Regions from separate parts of the Homo sapiens genome. Here region 1 is linked to region 2. Evidence: promoter capture Hi-C in human tissues and cell types (Jung and others, 2019). All regions are on one chromosome and are shown on one strand. Each heading gives the region's core, a stretch centred on a gene start or on the middle of the fragment in contact. The rest is flanking DNA. Distances are from core to core; before and after follow the strand shown. Region 1 overlaps RAD21L1 (RAD21 cohesin complex component like 1). Region 2 holds the start of FKBP1A (FKBP prolyl isomerase 1A).

The links. The method cuts DNA at HindIII sites, captures the fragments that hold promoters and counts their contacts. A contact is called where the count stands out against the background at its distance.
Region 1: a contact is called between a fragment that was not itself captured here and the fragment with the promoter of FKBP1A in region 2, in 1 of the 25 tissues and cell types used here (H1 embryonic stem cells).

What each region holds. Positions count from the first base shown.
Region 1 is chr20:1,237,108-1,240,086 of GRCh38, reverse strand. It overlaps RAD21L1 (RAD21 cohesin complex component like 1), which reads right to left. Exons shown (of 14, transcript NM_001384355.1): 6 at 1,873-2,043; 7 at 680-775. Among named protein-coding and RNA genes, the nearest start is that of RAD21L1, 13 kb to the right of the region's middle. The HindIII fragment of the contact is 5,639 bases long and covers 1-2,979 here.
Region 2 is chr20:1,391,221-1,394,310 of GRCh38, reverse strand. It overlaps FKBP1A (FKBP prolyl isomerase 1A), which reads left to right and starts at 1,257. Exons shown (of 5, transcript NM_000801.5): 1 at 1,257-1,349; 2 at 1,430-1,477. The coding sequence starts at 1,313. FKBP1A-SDCBP2 (FKBP1A-SDCBP2 readthrough (NMD candidate)) reads left to right here and starts at 1,139. Exons shown (of 10, transcript NR_037661.1): 1 at 1,139-1,349; 2 at 1,430-1,477. MIR6869 (microRNA 6869) reads left to right here and starts at 1,350; the gene lies at 1,350-1,411. RefSeq lists silencers at 1,201-1,250, 1,451-1,550, 1,561-1,630 and enhancers at 1,365-1,865, 2,657-3,090. The HindIII fragment of the contact is 6,579 bases long and covers 1-2,897 here.

The DNA.
Region 1 (2,979 bases), core at 106-2,605, 150 kb after region 2:
GACATCTAAGGGTGGGCTAAAGTCACAGCAGATGTGAAAACAGTGGCAGCAACTACAGTAAATGACTGATAACAATTTGACTATATGTCTGCTAAAAAAAAATTCTATTCTGTTAAATCACTTATCAGTTGATCCATAAAAAACCATAAGTAAAATTTTATTACTTTTAGCTCTTTGTATTTTCAGTTTCTACTGTTGTTTTTAGAAAGCAAATATAACATCAAAAATTGTGGCAAATAAAAAATGGGGCTAATTGTACTTTTAATTCTTAAGAAAAATCAGACTAAAATACCTCAAATCATCTGAGGTACTTCCGTATGAATTTCAAATAGGGAAAATATCCTCAATTTGTAATTTCTCTCAAATTGTATGTAGATTATCAAACCATACTAGTTAATAAATTTTCTTACCATTTACCATATACTATTTTAATAATTCAAAAAGCACAATATATTGGCAGAGTTCTCTCATGCTAAGCCCAATCCTGGCTAAATACCCTTCAGTGTACCTTTATCAGAATCCAATTTCCTATTTTATATTGTCTACAGTCAGACTAACAGAGTCTGAAAGACATTGTTCTTTATCTTTCACTATACTATATTGCTACTTAAATTCAGAAGTTCTGAGGCTTAAACATTAGTAACCCATTACTTTCTCATAAAGGAAAATTTCAACCTACCTGCTAAACTATTGGGAGGCTCAGAAGGCAGGGAAATTTCTCTGTTCAAATGCATGTCTTCTAACAGGATATTCTGATCATCTTGCAATAGATTGTCTTGAAAAACACAATGAATATTTTTTCATACAGACTGGAATCTGTCATTTGTTCACTAAACATTTATTAATGTTACTTTATGCATTTCATTGTAAAGGAATAACCAGATCTTTAATGTGAACTAGAGAATTTTAAAAAAGATTTGATAGGAACAGCCAATAAATAATCTTTAAAACGTGCATTTTGGCTGGGCGCAGTGGCTCACTCCTATAATCCCAGCACATTGGGAAGCTGAGGCGGGTGGATCACCTGAGGTCAGGAGTTTGAGATCAGCCTGACCAACATGGTGAAACCCCATCTCTACTAAAACTAGAAAAAAAATTAGCTGGACATTGTGGTGGGCACCTGTAATCCCAGCTATTCAGGAGGCTGAGGCAGAAGAATCACTTGAACCCAGGTGGCAGAGGTTGCATTGAGCCAAGATGGTGCCATTGCACTCCAGCCTGGGCGACACAGCAAGGCTCCGTCTCAAAAATAATAATAATAATAATAAATAAAACATGTGCATTTGGACTTCTTAGTTTTTCTCTACCCGATTTCTATGACTATTTTATAATGTGAAATAGTCTATGTTAAGAGTAAAACAAATAAAACTGATAAAATAAAGAAGGCAATAAATTGGTAGAAGGCCTTGAGGATAGGTAGAGGTATTTGATACAGTAAGTCATGGGGACCCAAGGCCTTAAGCAGGGGAATATAAATATAAAATAATAATATAAAATTCTGGAAAATAACTTAGCTGCCCCACAATGTATGTTAAAGAAAACAATGTTTTCCAGTACATAGCCTAGTATATTTTATAAGGAATATACTAACCTCACTCTCTCCCCTCCAAAAATTAGGAATTTGTAAAAATAAAAACAAGCAGTAGTTCATAACCTCTATAGAAAATATATTTAAACAGACGGCTATTTACTTAGGCCTAGCCTAAATGTTTAAACATGCCACAGACTTTGAAAACTTGTATAAAAAAAAGTATTGACCTACATAACACAAAAACATATTTGAAATTTTAGATTGATATAATAAATCTACTAATATATTGTAGTAATTTGATGAAAATAAATATTTTATTTCCACATGACCAGATAGCATACCAATCATTTCTCCTGCAGCTCCTTCATCTCCAAACCCATCTCCACTGTCATAGAATAGAGATCGTTCTCCAGTGAGGCTTCCAGAACTATGTTCAATTAAAGGACCACTGGAATTCAGTAATATGTTGTCATCAAAGAAGCTATGTCTTCTGAGAATTTCAGATTCCTCCCCTAAATAAATATATATCATTAATACTAATTCATAGAAACACAGAATTATAGGGTTAGAAGGAAATTCAGATATCATCTAGCATAATCTTGTCATCCAACACCTCATTTTATAGATGAAGAGAATGGCTGAAAGACTTACTTGAATTATTCAACTAAGGTCACTCAATCAGTAGAGACATGATTTTTAGTCTAATGCCCTTTCAAATACAATGGAAAAAATGCCAACATATTACATAGAGTTTATAGTTGTGATATAGTTTAATAACTTCCTAAGGTAAAAGTACTATGGAAAATAATTTATTCTATTTTAGGTAAGTAAGTTCTGCTTGACCAAGTATATTTCATAGTATTTCAAGGACAATTGCTTGTAGTGTTCATGCATAGTGGAGGTTTGGAAAATAAGGAACATGTTAGTCATCTCAGGAAATGGAAACGTAGGTAAAATATTAAAGAATGGGCTTACAACATTCATTCAATAAATATCGAATATGCTAGGAGGCAGTGATAGAGGTCCGTTAAAAAAAAAAAAAGACAAACCCAGTCAGCTAACAGTAACCGAGTGTTTATAGTATGTATTATATTATGTAATAGAAGATACTATTATAATTCTCATTGTACAGATGAGGAAACACATCCACAGAAAGGTTTTGTAACTTGCACACAGTCACACTATAATAAATGACAAGAGTCAGGATCTGAACCCAGCTCTCTCTGACTCCAGAGCCTGCATCCTGACAATCACAACACTACACTGATAGTTCCAGGGGACCAGAAGTCAGCTCTTGACCAGACATCAGTTATTTCCCTCTCTTGGGTTTGAATCTCTAGGTCCAGGAGTCTGAAACCCCAGAGGTCCAAGGTTAGTCTTCTCCTCCCTCTAACAACCCATGTTAGTGTTAGACAGTAAAGAAAATCATGAAGTATTACCCATATTGA
Region 2 (3,090 bases), core at 8-2,507:
TTGGCCTTCTAACCTTGGCTAAACCTGGCTAAACCTGGCTAACTCAGGGAAATATCTGACCACATTCCAGACTAAGTGAGGCATCTCTGTTATATTAACACGCCCCTCACAGCATGTATTACTGTCTCATAATATTACAGATTTGAAACTTTACATTTATTCCGTATCTTTTTTTACTTAAACAGGTTATTTGATTATCTCTCCCACATCATACGTAGATTCTGTGAGGTCAGGGACTAAGTCTGACTCCTTCACCGCTGTATCCTCAGCACCTAGCACAGTACATGACATACAGAAGGTGCTTGTCAAAGTCAAAATAAAATATGGAGATGAATCTCTAAATGTAATGTTTTATTTGGGGAAGCGAGAATCGCAACTCGGAGCATACACACAGATCTGGTGGTCTTTGGTATGTCCGAAAAACAAAGAGAAGGCTGGGCGTTTTATTAGAAAGGGAAATGCATTGGCACTAGTAAAGTTTCAGGGAGCTGGCAAGCTCTGATTGGTGACTGACAGTGGTAAGTAAAACTAGTATTAGGTTATGGCGGGTTGTTTCAGCAGTTACTAGCTGAATCTGGTCTCAGGGGGACAGCAGGCCATTTCCGCAGCAGTTAGTGGAAATATTGGTTCTTGGAGCAGGCGCTGCGTGCCTCCAGTGCTTTTCCCCTGGCCCCTGGATTCTGATTCCGTTGGGCATAAGAAGAGTGACCCAATTCGTATTATCAACTTTCACATGCTCAATAAGAATGTATGCATGTAAGCTATGGGTGAGTGAATGAATTTGGACAACTCCTCCTCCAGTGAAGAAAAGCAGAACTTACAACCTTGAGCCACTTATAAAATACTAACATACTACCACCACCTGTGCGCTGTCTTCTCAGAACCATGCTCTTCCCAGGATGAGTAACTGTGTGCTTCTAAGTGGAAACCTGATGACAGTCACCCAGTCAGTGACTGGCGGACCCCCTATTATTACTCCCATTCTTTGGGCAGGGAGATGCTTAACCGGCTGGAAGCACAGAGGAAGGGCAGGAGAACGAAGCAAGTCACCCGGCAAACACAGCTGTATCCGGAGGCCTCCGGGCTTCCGGAGGTCTCGGGGCTTCTGGGCTTCCGGTCCCTCTTCCGGAGGCCTGGGTTTCCGGGACGTCGCGCGCCGTGTGGGGCGCGCACGCAGGGCTGGGCGTGAGGGGGCGTGCGCGTGCGCAGGCGACGCGCCGAGGTACTAGGCAGAGCCGTGGAACCGCCGCCAGGTCGCTGTTGGTCCACGCCGCCCGTCGCGCCGCCCGCCCGCTCAGCGTCCGCCGCCGCCATGGGAGTGCAGGTGGAAACCATCTCCCCAGGAGACGGTGAGTAGTGGCGCGCGGCGGCTCGGAGTACCTCTGCCGCCGCGCGCATCGGCTCAGCATGCCCGTCTCTGTCTCCTCAGGGCGCACCTTCCCCAAGCGCGGCCAGACCTGCGTGGTGCACTACACCGGTGAGTCGGGGGCCCAGCGGGGAGGGGGCCCGGGCCGCAGTCCGCAGCCCGGGTGCGGCTGGCCGTCGAGGCCTGGGGGCCCGGGGCCTGGGGTCCGGGGCGTGGCGGCGGCGAGGTCCGCATGGCCCGAGGCTGAGGCCTGGGCGGTGGCTCAGGGGCAGCCTGGGGCTTGCGGAACCCGGGCGGGTCTGAATCGGCGGCTGTGAGCGTCGGCTGCGGGCTAGGTGTTATCTGACCCGTCAGAAGCATTTCTGCACCTTAGATGCTGCCCTTATGCCCGCTGCACAGATGAGGAAACTGAGGCTTGGCGAGGCGAAGTCACTTTCCCAAGGTCTCACTTTCCCAAGGTCACACTTTCAGGAATGGGCAGAGCTCTGGCCAGGGACCATTAGGAAGGATTTGTACCATTTCTGTGCCCCTGCCCCCACTTCCATCCCTCCCTTCACTGGAGATGAGGACGAGGTAATTCCGAGTCTGCAGAGCTGCTGCTTCCTCCGGGGAACTCGGAATTCGCCCCTTTGCCTAGGGTGGGGAAACATCCCACTTCCTAAGTCATTGCTTTGGCCCTTCCTGGCCTTGGGGGAAGTAGAGCTGCACGGCCTTCTTCCGTCTTTTTACTTTTGAGCCACTTACAAATCCAAGGCTCAGTGACAGCGCTGGCTCAGGCTGACCGAAAGCTGCACGTGTAATTTAGTCCCCCAGCTCTTCTAGAAGTAGAGACTTTTCTCGTCCTCATTTTAAAGATAAGCATCTGGAGGCTAATACATAGTGATAATACAAGCCAAAGGAAATTTTAGACACCTCCCCCTCCCCAGCCAGAATTCAGACATCAGAGTCGTGTGCCTTGGGGCTGTCTTACTCCTTCTCCTTACAAGCTTGTCCTGGTTTGTATGGGGGCGGGGGAGGGGGAGAGCTGAGTTGGCGGAGACTCAGTGGCTGTGGGTCCCACAAGGGTGGCAGTGATTGGTGTAGCCACAGTTGTTGATACGAATAACCTTCCCTCCCCCTCCTCCTTCCCCTTTCTCAACCTTCCCACCCTTTCCTCTGTTCCCCCTCCTCCTCCCTCTTTTTTTCCCACTCCCTCTCCTCCTCTTCCTCCTCCTGGGTAGTAGGCTGTGGGCAGTTCTGGCCAAGTTGCTCACGAATAAGCTCCACCTTTCTCTTCCAAATCATGGAAACATGGAGGGATCCCTCTATTGAGGGAAATGACTTTCACTGGAAAGAGGAAAAGGCAACTAACATCCCCCCTCCCATGCCCTTTTATTTCTGTGGCCCTTCCCCGTGGGTAGAAATGGGGGCAGGAGGTAGAAGTTAAGGACTAGAACTTTAAAAATTCTGCCAAAGGAGGAGTTACTGAAACCCATCTTTCTGGGGAGCAGGCAGTCTCATGTCCGTGAAGGAAGCTGGAAAGTGCTTTTGATGTTTTAGATAGCTGTCCTTGTAGGCCACAGTCAGCACCTGAGCCTGGGAGGTCTGGTAGATGAAAGCGCATCCTTTTGGTGATTTGTCATCGGAAGGATGAGGAGAGTAACCATTTACAGTGCTGGGGTGAGTGGGCAGTTCATTCAGTTCCGCAGCCAACTGGGGCAAAGATTGGGACTCAAGCCGTGAGG